Regions from separate parts of the Homo sapiens genome. Here region 2 is linked to region 1. The links are contacts of gene promoters, found by promoter capture Hi-C in blood cells and fetal thymus (Javierre and others, 2016). All regions are on one chromosome and are shown on one strand. Each heading gives the region's core, a stretch centred on a gene start or on the middle of the fragment in contact. The rest is flanking DNA. Distances are from core to core; before and after follow the strand shown.

Region 1 (6,300 bases), core at 2,766-5,265:
GTGTAGAAGGCAGGTTGGGAGATAATTGGGTATCAAAAATTAGAATTGCCAAGCTGTGTTAATGGGTTGGGGCAGTGTTTCTTAATCGAGTCATCTGAGGACCTTTTAAAATATGCACACCTACACTCCACCTGTAGAGATTGTGATTCAGGTCAGGGCTGGCTCCAGGTCTCGTGGTTTTAGAAAAGCTCCCTCGGTGTTACTAACATGCACCACTGATTGACAGCCTTTGGGGACAATTGGTCAGAATATATGAAGTGCCCAGAAAAATTCAAGATATGGTCAGCATGAGTTCTCTGCATGAACAGCCAGTTTTCTGAGTGGGGTTTGGTGGCACAAGGTCTCCTGGATTTCCTGGTTAAAGGCTTTCTGGACCGTGCTTCCCTAGAGGGCAAGAACTCCAAGTATTTGGCTTTTTCTTTTTTTTGAGGCAGGGTCTCACTCTGTCACCCAGGCTGGAGTGCAGTGGCGCAATCTTAGCTCACTGCAGCTTCTGCCTCCCAGGTTCAAGCGATTCTCCTGCCTCAGCCTCCCAAGTAGCTGGGATTACAAGCATGCACTACCACTACCCGGCTCATTTTTGTGTTTTTGGTAGAGATGGGGTTTCACCCTGTTGGCCAGGCTGGTCTCGAACTCCCGACCTCAGGTGATCTGCCTCCCTTGGTCTCCCAAAGTACTGGGATTAGTATTCGGCTTTTGATCCCCATCATCTAGTGTGCTGTTTTACACAGGTTGATGCAGTGGTTTAGAGCATGGATTTTCGAGTCCGGTGGCCTGAACTAGAATCTAACACCAGCTGTGTGACTTGAGAAAGGTTATTAGCCTCTCTGCACCTCAGTTTCCTCATCTGTACAAAAGAGATGATACAATCTACCTCCCTGGGTTGTTATAAGGATTCATGAAGGCCAGACACAGTGGCTCAGCCTGTAATCCCAGTGCTTCGGGAGGCCAAGGTGGGCGGATCACCTGAGGCCAGGAATTCGAGACCAGCCTGACCAACAAGGTGAAACCCTGTCTCCACTAAAAAAAAAAAAATACAAAAATTAGCCAGGCGTGGTGGCATATGCCTGTAATCCCAGCTACTCGGGAGTCTGAGGCACGAGAATTGCTTGAAACTGGGAGGTGGAATTTGCAGTGAGCCGAGATCACACCACTGCACTCTATCCTGGGCAACAGAGAGCAAGACTTCGTCTCAACAACAACAACAACAACAGAAAGGATTCATGAGTTCATAAGTCCTTTAGCATAATACTGGCACCTAATAAAAGCATAAAAACGGTGGTTATTATTACAAAGCTAAGTAAATTATTGTAGCATCAGATCAGATGGGAACCCTCTGCCCTCTCCCACCTCAGAACTGCACTATTTTGCGGGAGTGGAAACCTGCTAGGAAGCTGCCCAAGCCGAGTGGCTGTTCAGTTTCTGCCTTCCCCTCAGGGGCCAAGAAAGATCTTGTTCAAACTTGAGCAGCTCCAGCATCAGGGCTCAGAGACACTGAAAACAGGAAGTATGAGCCCTACTGGCAGGGTTAAGCCAGGAGGCTGTTAACAATTTTCAGGCCATTTCCCAGCCAACACCCTGACCCCCAGCCAGCTGCTGTCTCTTTGCCTAATATTAGATCTCACCCCAGGCTAGCAGGCATCAGCCGCTTCTCCAGCAACCAGTTTCACAGTTCCAGATTCTCACTCCAGAGACTGCCTCCTATTAGTGCCTCCACGATCAAGCACTGTGCTTTTTCTGTTTTTGCTTTTGTTTTTTTTTTTTTTGAGATGGAGTATCGCTCTGTCGCCCAGGCTGGAGTGCAGTGGTGTGATCTCGGCTCACTGCAACCTCCGCCTCCCAGGTTCAAGCGATTCTCCTGCCTCAGCCTCCCGAGTAGCTGGGATTACAGGCGCCCACCACCACGCCCGGCTACTTTTTGTATTGTTTTTAGTAGAGATGGGGTTTCACCATGTTGGCCAGGATGGTCTTGATTTCCTGACTTCGTGATCCGCCTGCCTCGGCCTCCCAGAATGTTGGGATTACAGGCGTGAGCCACCGTGCCCGGCCTTTTTTTTTTTTGTTTGAGATGGAGTCTTGCTCTGTCCCCCAGTTTGGAGTGTAGTGGCTCAATCTCAGCTCACTGTGCAACCTTTGCCTCCCGGGTTCAAGCAGTTCTCCTGCCTCAGCCTCCCGAGTAGCTGAGATTACAGGCGCCCGCCACTACGCCTGGCTAATTTTTTGTACTTTCAATAGAGATGGGGTTTCACCATGTTGGCCGGGTTGGTCTCAAACTCCTAACCTCAAGTGATCAACCCGCCTCAGCCTCCCAAAGTGCTGGGATTACAAGCATGAGCCACCATGCCAGACCAACACTGTGCTAAATTATTCATGTGTTGTCTGAGTTAATCCTCCCAAGAATCCTATGAGGAAGGTAGTATCACTAGCCCCATTTAACAGTAGAGAAAATGGAGGCACAGACAGATTGAGTGACTTGCACGAGGCAATGCAGCTCCAAATGCAAAGAGTCAGGGTTCGAACCCAGGCAGCCATCTCCAGAGTCCTCATGCGCGGTACTAGGATTTATCACCTCTCAGGAGAGTCCAACTAGGGCAAAAGGAGAGCAGCCCCCCTTTCAAGCTTTCTACTTTATGGTTGCTGGGTTTCTAGGCAACAGCTATCAGAATTTTTTTTTTTTTTTTGAGACGGAGTCTCACTCTGTTGCCAGGCTGGAGTGCAGTGGCGTAATCCTGGCTCACTGCAACCTCCGCCTCCCGGGTTCAAGTGATCCTCCTGCCTCAGCCTCCTGAGTAGCTGAGATTACAGGCACATGCCACCACGCCCGGCTAATTTTTGTATTTTTAGTAGAGACGGGGTTTCACCATGTTGGCCAGGATGGTCTCGGTCTCTTGACCTTGTGATCCACCCGCTTTGGGCTCCCAAAGTGCTGGGATTACAGTTGTAAGCCACCCGCCCAGCCCAGAATTTTTTTTTTTTTTTCCATACACAGTCTTGCTCTGTCGCCCAGGTTGGAGTGCAGTGGCCCATCTCGGCTCACTGCAACCTCTGCTTCCCAGGTTCAAGCTATTATCCTGCCTCAGCCTCCTGAGTAGCTGGGATTACAGGCGTGCACCACCACACCCGGCTAATTTTTGTATTTTTAGTAGAGACGGGGGTTTCACCATGTTGGCCAGGCTGGTCTCAAACTCCTGACCTCGTGGTTCACCCACCTCGGCCTCCCAAAGTGCTGGGATTACAGGCGTGAGCCACTGCGCCCAGCCTCATCTATCAGAATTTTAATCCTCTCCTAGATAACAATTCTTTCCTCCTAGAAGATTCCCAGGCCAGATGAGGAGACCACACTCAGCCATTGGTTTCAAAGTAAAACTTCACTGTTCTCACAGTAACCTCAGCCTTTCTGCTGCAATCTGGTTTCATTGAAGTGGTTTCCGTTTTCACCAGAACCCCTCTTTCTGAAGTATTCTCAGCCCATTATATTAACAGCACTCAGCCTGCTTTCCACGTATGCCCTATCTTTCCCAAGCTGACCACAGCAGCACCCCTGCCTATACCCCTCCATACTCACTCCCATTGGGTCCACCTTCCTTCCAAGAAGGAAACATTTAAGCCCTCCCTTTGAATTAGATGAAGTAAGAGGAGTTGCTGAGGTGTTTTTTAAAAATCAATTCTGGGCTAGGTGCAATGGCTCACACCTGTAATCCTAATACTGTGGGAGGCCTAGACGGGAGGATTGCTTGAGCCCAGGAGCTCGAGGCTGCAGTGAGCTATGATTGCACTACTGCACTCCAGCCTGGGTGACAGAGCAAGACCCTGTCTCTAAAGAAAAAAAATCAGTTTTATTGAGATATAATTCATATATCATACAACTTACCCATTTATTCTTTCTCTTTTCTAGAGACAGGGTCTTGCTCTGTCACCCAGGCTGATCTCAAACTCCTAGGCCAGAGTGATCCTCCCACCTCAGCCTCCTGAGTGGCTGGAATTACAGGCTCATACCACCACGTCTGGCACCATTTGAAGTGTACAATGCAATGGTTTTTAGTAGATTCACAGAATTGTGAGACATCACAATCAATTTTAGAACACTTCATCACCTCACAAAGAAATCCTGTACCCACTCACAATCACTCCGTTTTTCTCCCCAACCCCCTCAGCCCTAGGCAATCACTAATTTACTACTTTCTGTCCTCTCTGTGGGTTTGCCAATTCTGGGCATTTCATATCAATAGAATCCTATAATATGTGGTTCTTTGTGACTGGCCTCTTTCACTCTTAACATGATGTTTTCAAGTTTTATCCATGGCATAGCATGTGTCAGTGAGGTTGCTGAGTTTTAATAACAAATTGAGGGAAAAGATGGTCTAGGCGAGGTGCAGTGGCTCACATCTGTAAATTCCAGCACTTTGGGATACCAAAGTGGGAGGATCCCTTGAGTTCAGGAGTTCCAGAACAGCCTGGGCAACATAAAGAGGCCCCATCTCAAAAAAAAAAAAAAAAAAAAAAGGATGTTCTAGGTCTCTTTTTGAGGTTTCAGTCACATTGAGATTCATTCAACAATCTTTGTCATTTCTTTCTTTCTTTCTTTTTTTTTTTGAGATGGAATCTCGCTCTGTCGCCCAGGCTGGAGTGCAGTGGCGCAATCTCGGCTTACTGCAATCTCTGCCTCCCAGGTTCAAGCAATTCTCTGCCTCAGCCTCCCGAGTAGCTGGGATTACAGGTGCCTGCCACCATGCCCCACTAATTTTTTTCTATTTTTAGTAGAGACGAGGTTTCACCGTCTTGGCCAGGCCGATCTTAAATTCCTGACCTCATGATCCACCTGCTTCGGCCTCCCAAAGTGCTGGGATTACAGGCATGAGCCACTGCGCCCGGCCCTTTGTCATTTTTTTAAAGTACCCATACACAGGACATTATTTTAGATACAAATGAGGCAGTCCTAGTCCTCAAGGAGCTCACCACTTTGCAAAGTGCTATACTAAGTCTGCATAAAATGCATGGAAAAATAATGAAGAAGCAATTGATTCTGCCTGGTGAAGTCAATGACGACTTTACAGAAGAGGTGATATTTTACCTGGACATTCAAATACACACAGAAATTTGCCAAACTAGAAGAAAGGCATTGTAGGCGTAGGGAAGTTCATGGAGGCATGAAAAGGTGAGGTGTTCTAAGGAAATGAGGAATAGTCCATTGTGGTGGAGAACTCTGGGGGGCAATGAGTAGGTGGAGATGGTGGGGAAGGATCTGGTGGGATCCAGCTGGTGATGACCCTGCTGCAGGACTGATTCTCAGCAGCAGGCACTGGTTCTGCTCAGTGACTAAACAGATGCTGTCCTGAGATCCTCTCCGCGTGGCCCCTGCCATCAGCCTCTCTCCACTTCTTCATGATCCAGCAACCACAGGGTTAATGCCTGTGGCACAGCAAAGGCCTCTGAGATCCTCCCTCCTCCAGCTGGCTCAGGCGAAAGTGTCCTACTGGGGTATCTTGATAGTTAAATATTTTGACTATCACCTCTTGCCCTCAGGCACTATTTTTCAAAATCCAGAAAGTGAATTAAGTTCTAGAAGCCATAAAAAAATTGGCTTTTTAAACTAAACATTTTTATTCAATTGTAAAAGTAGCTACAAATGTAAAATACTTTCATAGCATTCCACAGCCATTGTTAACATCTCTGGCTTCTTGGGTTCCTTTGTAATCTCAACCTCTTTTACTCGGTCTTAAATGTTAGGATTCCTAAAGCCTGATCTTAAACTTCCTATTCCCACCCTAAGCTTTCTCCCTTAGGATCTTGTTAGCACCCAGGCTTAAATGACCACCAATAAACAGATGGCTTACAAAGCTGATCTCTAGCCAGACCTCTCTTCTGCACTCCAGACTCTTATTTTCTGTTGTCTACTTGACACCCCTTTTGGTTGTCACTCACAGGGGACCTCAAAGTCAACCTGCCCCAAACTGGCCGAGTCTTCATGCCCCAGTGTGGAGACATCTCCCATCACTTTCTGTCTCAGATGATAGCACCACATCCATTCAATTATGAAAGCCAGAAACCTGGGGCCATCCTGATGCTTCTCTCCTGGTTTCCTTCATCCCCTCCATCACCAAATCCTGGGGATTTGACTGATATCTCTTGAAGTCGTCCATTTCTCTCCCTCCCCACCATCACCATTAGTTGAGCCCAGTCTACCCTACAATAGCTTCCCAGTTTGGTGCCACTGCACTACAGCCTGGGCGACAAGAGCAAAACTCAGTCTCAGAAAAAAAAAAAAAAAAAGGACCAAAGGACCACTAAAAGAAGAGCACT
Region 2 (5,780 bases), core at 1,207-3,706, 1.1 Mb after region 1:
ATGCAAGTAAATTTAACACTGGTTAGTCAGGGGTAGAATTAAGAGGAGACAAAGGGAGATTATGCAGTTTGTCTTTATAACCCTCTACCTCATTTAACCTAGTATAATTAAGCATGTCATATTTGTAACTTTTTCAATTTAAAAAAAGAAAGACGAAAGGCAAGGGATGCTTACCCTGGATCTTCCTATGGCTAGACGATTATCTCCAGGTATTAAGCAGCAAGATATGTATTAAAATCACATATAGGCCGGGCACGGTGGCTCACACCTTTAATCCCGGCACTTTGGGAGGCTGATGTGGGCAGATCAACTGAGGTCAGGAGTTGGAGACCAGCCTGGCCAACATGGTGAAACCCTGTTTCTACTAAAAATAAAAAATTAGCCAGGTGTGGAGGCAGGTGCCTGTAATCCCAGCTACTTGGGAAGCTGAGACAGAGGATTGCTTGAACCCAGGAGGCAGAGGTTGCAGTGAGCCGAGGTCACACCACTCCAACCTGCACTTCAACGTGGGTGACAGGGTGAGACTGTCTCGAAAAAAAAAGAAAAAGAAAAAAAATAAATACAATAATATATGGAGGGGTCCTACAGCATCTGCATCTGCTCCTTGGTGAGATGGAACATGGCTGGAGTCCGGGAGAGTGGAGGGAGGAGCAGTTAAGAACAAGCCTCTGGGTTGGGCAGAGCTGCATTTTAATCCCAGCTCTCTGCCACTGACTGAGCTGTGGGACTTGGGCCAGTTATTTAACTGCTCTGTGCCTCAGTTTCCCTATCTTTATAATGGGAGTAATTAGCCTCTATCACTGGGTTATCAGGAGAGTAAAATGAGATCATGCATGCAGGATGCTTAGCACAATGCCTGGCATACAGTGTTCAAGAAAGGATAGTCGTTATCATTATTAATATTATTTACAGTAGGTGCATCTCAGTTGTGTAGGGAGTGGGGAATGGTGGTTATAAAAATCTAAAGGAGGTGACAGTGACCTAAATTTAGGCTCCCATACTTCCAGGCATATATTGATGTGTTCCTGCACCATCCACCTAAGAACTGATTTTATTCTTGAGGGTATTATAGCTAGCTAAAATAAAAGACTACATTTCCCAGGCTCCCTTGCAGCTAGGGGCAGGGGAAGTCTGGGATGGGACTTTGCTTTCGGAAGATGCCCTTCTGCTCTTTCTTTCCCTCCACCCTCCTGCTGTCTGGGTCCTAGAGTTGATGGCTGGGGTCCTGGCGGCAATCTGGGACCCTGCAGCACCTGGAGGGAAGAAGCCACGTCCCCAGGACAGTGGCGCAGAAACACAGGAGTCTGAGTCCCTGATGACCCTGCAGTGGCCGTGCCAGCCCCAGCCCACCTCCCTCTGCACTTATATGTGAGAGAGAAATAAACCTCTATCTTGCCTAAGACTTTGTTTAGGTTTTCTGTAATGTGAAGGCAAGCCCAGCCCTAACTAATTGAGTTCTCACAGAACGACTACAAATTCCAAAGCCCATGGCTAGGAGGTGGCGCAGGGCGTGGCCTGGGGAGGGGCTGCTGCCTGCTCCCAAGCGAGCCTGGGCCTGGGCACTTACTCATCGCCAATGTAGAGCTTGGGCCAGACCTCGTTGACGTGGGTGTACTGGGGACTGCCCTTCCAGAAGAGCCGCTCCAGCTCAAAGGCTCCAGGGGTGCAGTAGTCCTCCTCCTCCCCTTCCTCCTCCATCTTCGGCGACAGCCTCTTGGCAGATGAGTAGGCATTCTTGAGGCTTGTCTTCACTTCTCCAGATGTCATTTTAGAGCCAAGGGATTTTCTCTCCTTTCTGCAGCTGGTTATGAGAGAGAAGCAGGATGGGGGTTAGCAGGGGACACTGAGGCAGGGAATAGGCTTTACAAAAAGAGGTGGGAATAAGCTTATCTTAAAATTTGGAAAGAGTTTCCCCAACCTGCTATGCCCCGGCTTCCTCTTCCCAGGCCACACAGGTAAACAAGGAAGGCCATGATGGCAGTTAAATGACACTTCCCCAATGTTCCAATCTTTCTAGAGAAGGAGAGCTGGGGTCCTTGGACGTGGGCCAAGGCGGGCTCTGGAGCTAAGAAATCCTGCAAGCAGCCAGTTCCTTCCCACCTTTCTTTAGACTTTACTCCTTTGGTTCCTACTTTTTCCTTTATCTGACTGAAACCTACTGGTTTGGGCCATTTGGGACCCAAAATAGGAAGGCCCAGAAGATTCCTGACATTCCAGGCCTGTGGCCCTCTCAGTGTCTGCAGGGAGCCGTCAGCCAGTGGAAAGAGTACATCGCCAAGGCCATACCTGCCCGGGCCTGGGTCTGGGCCACACGCACATCAGCAGGACTTCAGAAGCCTTGAGAGGGGAGGAAACCTGGCTGCATGAGGGTTAACCTGTCAGAAGAGCTGAAGGCAATGCTCACACTCTCACACTGGGAGCCTGGCCATCACTGTGTTAACTTACCAAGGGGATTGGAAGAGATGCCCCAAGATAGAAAGCTGTGCCTCGAGACTGAAATGTGCATTTGGAGAGCTTGTTAGGCTCTGCCAGTGGAATGTGGGAGAGGACTTTCCATTGTCCCCAAGGAGAGGAATTTGCAGTGGAATTGGACATTGATTGTTTCCTGAGCTGAGTAAATGATGCACCTATGGTCAGCCTGGGAAAGGAGACTGGAGAGAAGGAGGAAAAGGTGGGAAGACTGAGAACCATGGAGGTGAATGCTATTTGTTTATTTATTTGACAAATACTTATATAACACCTATTGTGTGCCAGACACTATTCCAAGTGCTTGATGATTGTAAGCCCATTTAATCTTAACAACACTGAGATAGGGTTATCCTAATACCCTATCATTAGCCCCATTTTACAGATAAGGAGGATCATGAATTGAGGCTGTCTGTAGCACAGGGTCTTAGTGTCAGGGGGAGGGAGATGGGAGGTGCAGTGTGAGGAGGGGCAGGCCGGGGATGCAGAGAATGTAGGAAAGGGTTCATGGCTTCAAAGACCATTAGGAACATGTCAAAGGGACTCAGAATACAACTTGAAGAAGCTTCCACTTATCAAAACTGGAACAATTTGAACATGAAAAATAAAAATAATTCCAGTGGATCAAAACACATCAAACACTTAGGTCATAATAATACTGAAGGCCAGGCGCGGTGGCTCATGCCTGTAATCCCAGCACTTTGGGAGGCCGAGGCGGGCAGATCACCTGAGGTCAGGAGTTCAAGACCAGACTGCCTAACATGGCGAAACCCCATCTCTACTAAAAATACAAAAAATTAGCCGGGTGTAGTGGCGGGTGCCTGTAATCCCAGCTACTTGGGAGGCTGAGGCAGGAGAATCGCTTGAACCTAGGAGGCAGAGGTTGCAGTGAGCTGAGATCGCACCACTGCACTCCAGCCTGGGCAACAAGAGTGAAACTCCATCTCAAAATAATAATAATAATACTGAAAACAGTCCGGGAGCAGTGGCTTATGCCTGTAATCCCAGCACTCTGGGAGGCTGAGGTGGGCAGATTGCATGAGCCCAGGAGTTCAAGACCAGCCTGAGCAACATGACAAAACCCATCTCTACAAAAAAATGCAAAAATTAGCTGGGTGTGGTGGTGCATGCCTGTAGTCCCAGCTACTCAGGAGGCTGAGGCTGAGGTGGGAGGACCACTGGAGCCCAGGAGGCTGAGGCTATAGTGAGCCAAGATCATATCACTGCTCTCCTGGGCAACACAGTGAGACCTTATAAAAAAAAAAAAAAAAACCCAAAACTTATTATGCACGGTTGGAAGATGTTTGGGAACCAGCTCCTTATTTTGAAGATGGATAGATAAAGGAGAAGAATCTGCATGTATTGCTTCTCTCTTTTACAAACTATATACTACTGGGTTGATACGGGAAATGTTCTTTTATAGAAGTATTCCAGATAATGAATAAAGAAGGAAGCACCATTTTACACCACCTGATGAGTTGCTGCATCCAGAGACTGAGCATAAACTGCCAGCCACGTATGAATAAGAAGAGATGGTCAGACATCATATGCCTTCGAATAGAAGAGCACACCACCATGGCGGGAATCATCTCACCAAAGAGGTCTATATCTATCAGCCGACTTGCTGGAGATTCCGAGGACAGTTACGTTATACCACAGGGCCTTATCTTTTAGAAAAACATACTGAAATATTTGCTTCAAAAATAATATAGTTGGAAAATATAAATAATATAATGTTGGGGCAAGGTATTGATGTAGGTGTGAATGAGATGGGCTGGCTATGAGTGATGGTGATTGGGGCTGGATGATGGTTATAAGGTAGTTGTTGTTTCTCTTTTTTCCTTTTTTAAAATAGAGATGAGGTCTCGCTATGTTGGCCAAGCTGGTCTCGAACTCCTGAGCTCAAGTGATCCTCCCACCTCAGCTTCCCAAAGTGTTGGGATTACAGGTGTGAGCCATCACACCTGGCCAGTTGCTGTTTCTCTTCAGGTGTGTTTGAAATTCTCCATGATAGAAATTTAAAAGGAAAGGGTTGAGACCACTGCTTTGGGGAATTGGATTCTCCCAAGTCCATAGCAGATGACTTAAAGGATCACTAGCTAGCCATGAGTGTCTGTAGGGATTGTGGGAAGCCAGGGTTTGTGACTTCCTCCAACAACTTCCTGCTTCCTGGTGAAGTGTGGAGAGGGCAATAGGCAGCAAAGGGGACCCTCCTGTGAAGTCTCTCAAAGTGTGGTCTGAAGACCACGTCTGTCAGAGTCACCTGGCACTAACCAAAAATACAGATATCCGGGCTGCACCCTCGTAGGGGCGCAGGCATCTGTATCTCAATGAGCTCCGAAGTGAGTCTGACGCTTAGTAAAGTTTGATAATAATTGTCTGAGATGTGGCTAGAGAGCCAGGGTGCTGCGGAGTCAAGGGAAAGGTAGTGAGGGTGCTCATTCAAAATGCCTCCCGCTGTCCCAGTGGGGTGGGAGGCCCGGTCTTTGGCCCAGAATGCAGCTGCAGGCTGGGAGGAGAGAGGACCTTGCTTCGGGGCTCCTGAGTGTGGCTTCTCTCTGTAGCCTTGGTGTCTGGCACGTAAGAGGTGCTCAGGAGATATGGGTTGGATGAGGAAGTGGCTTAGTGAATGAATGGAATGAGTGAATGAGTGACTGAGGGGTGAAGGAATGATTAAGGGCTGTGAGGCCTGTGCAAGGGGCTCAGCAAGAGCTGCTAAGGCAGGACTGAGCCTCCAGGCTGATTTGGAGGAGGGAGAAGGTGAGGGGACTGCAGGCGCAGGGTGGGCTGCCCTCCCCCACGGGTGGTCATTCAGGCCCAAACTCTATTCTGGGGCCTGCCTGCTGTGTTTCCAGTCAGGAAGGAAGAAATTATTTTAAGGAGTGGCCAGAAATCTTTCTCACAGAAACGAGCCCAGACCTTTCAGTCCCCTAAGAGCATACGTAGTTATAGCCCTCCTTGCTTCAGGCCCACAGTGTCTAAAGGTGTGAAGCTCAGCTCGTCCATGGCACCCACTCTTCTTGTTCGAAGTGAGTAGAAGCTGGGCACCATACACCTAAAGGTGGTTTAGGCCATCTTGAACCCTGCCTGCGGTTAATGGAAGCTTCAGAAGAGGTGATTTTCGGGAGACGCTAGAGTCAATTCCGTTCTGAAACCTCCGTCTGCCTCCTTTGATCACTGAAGCTGACCTCACCCTTGGTGAGGCCATTCTTCCTTCATTACACTGTGGAGGGAACCATCCCCGTCTCCATCTCTGTGCTGAAAGCCTCGGCTGGATTTCCAGACAAAGGAGGAAGTGGTGCGGTCTACCCCGA

The links. Contacts are between HindIII fragments. The CHiCAGO score rates a contact against its expected background, and 5 or more counts as called.
Region 2: a contact is called between a fragment that was not itself captured here and the fragment with the promoter of C10orf55 in region 1, in 1 of 17 cell types (total CD8 T cells). The highest score is 5.3, in total CD8 T cells.

The regions. Positions count from the first base shown.
Region 1 is chr10:73,918,762-73,925,061 of GRCh38, forward strand. C10orf55 (chromosome 10 putative open reading frame 55) reads right to left here and starts at 4,016. Exons shown (of 5, transcript NR_160938.1): 1 at 3,872-4,016. RefSeq lists enhancers at 1,411-2,059, 2,060-2,706. The HindIII fragment of the contact is 3,151 bases long and covers 2,618-5,768 here.
Region 2 is chr10:75,056,748-75,062,527 of GRCh38, forward strand. DUSP29 (dual specificity phosphatase 29) reads right to left here. Exons shown (of 4, transcript NM_001003892.3): 2 at 1,568-1,801. The coding sequence starts at 1,767. Among named protein-coding and RNA genes, the nearest start is that of DUSP29, 14 kb to the right of the region's middle. RefSeq lists an enhancer at 1,474-2,025. The HindIII fragment of the contact is 1,146 bases long and covers 1,884-3,029 here.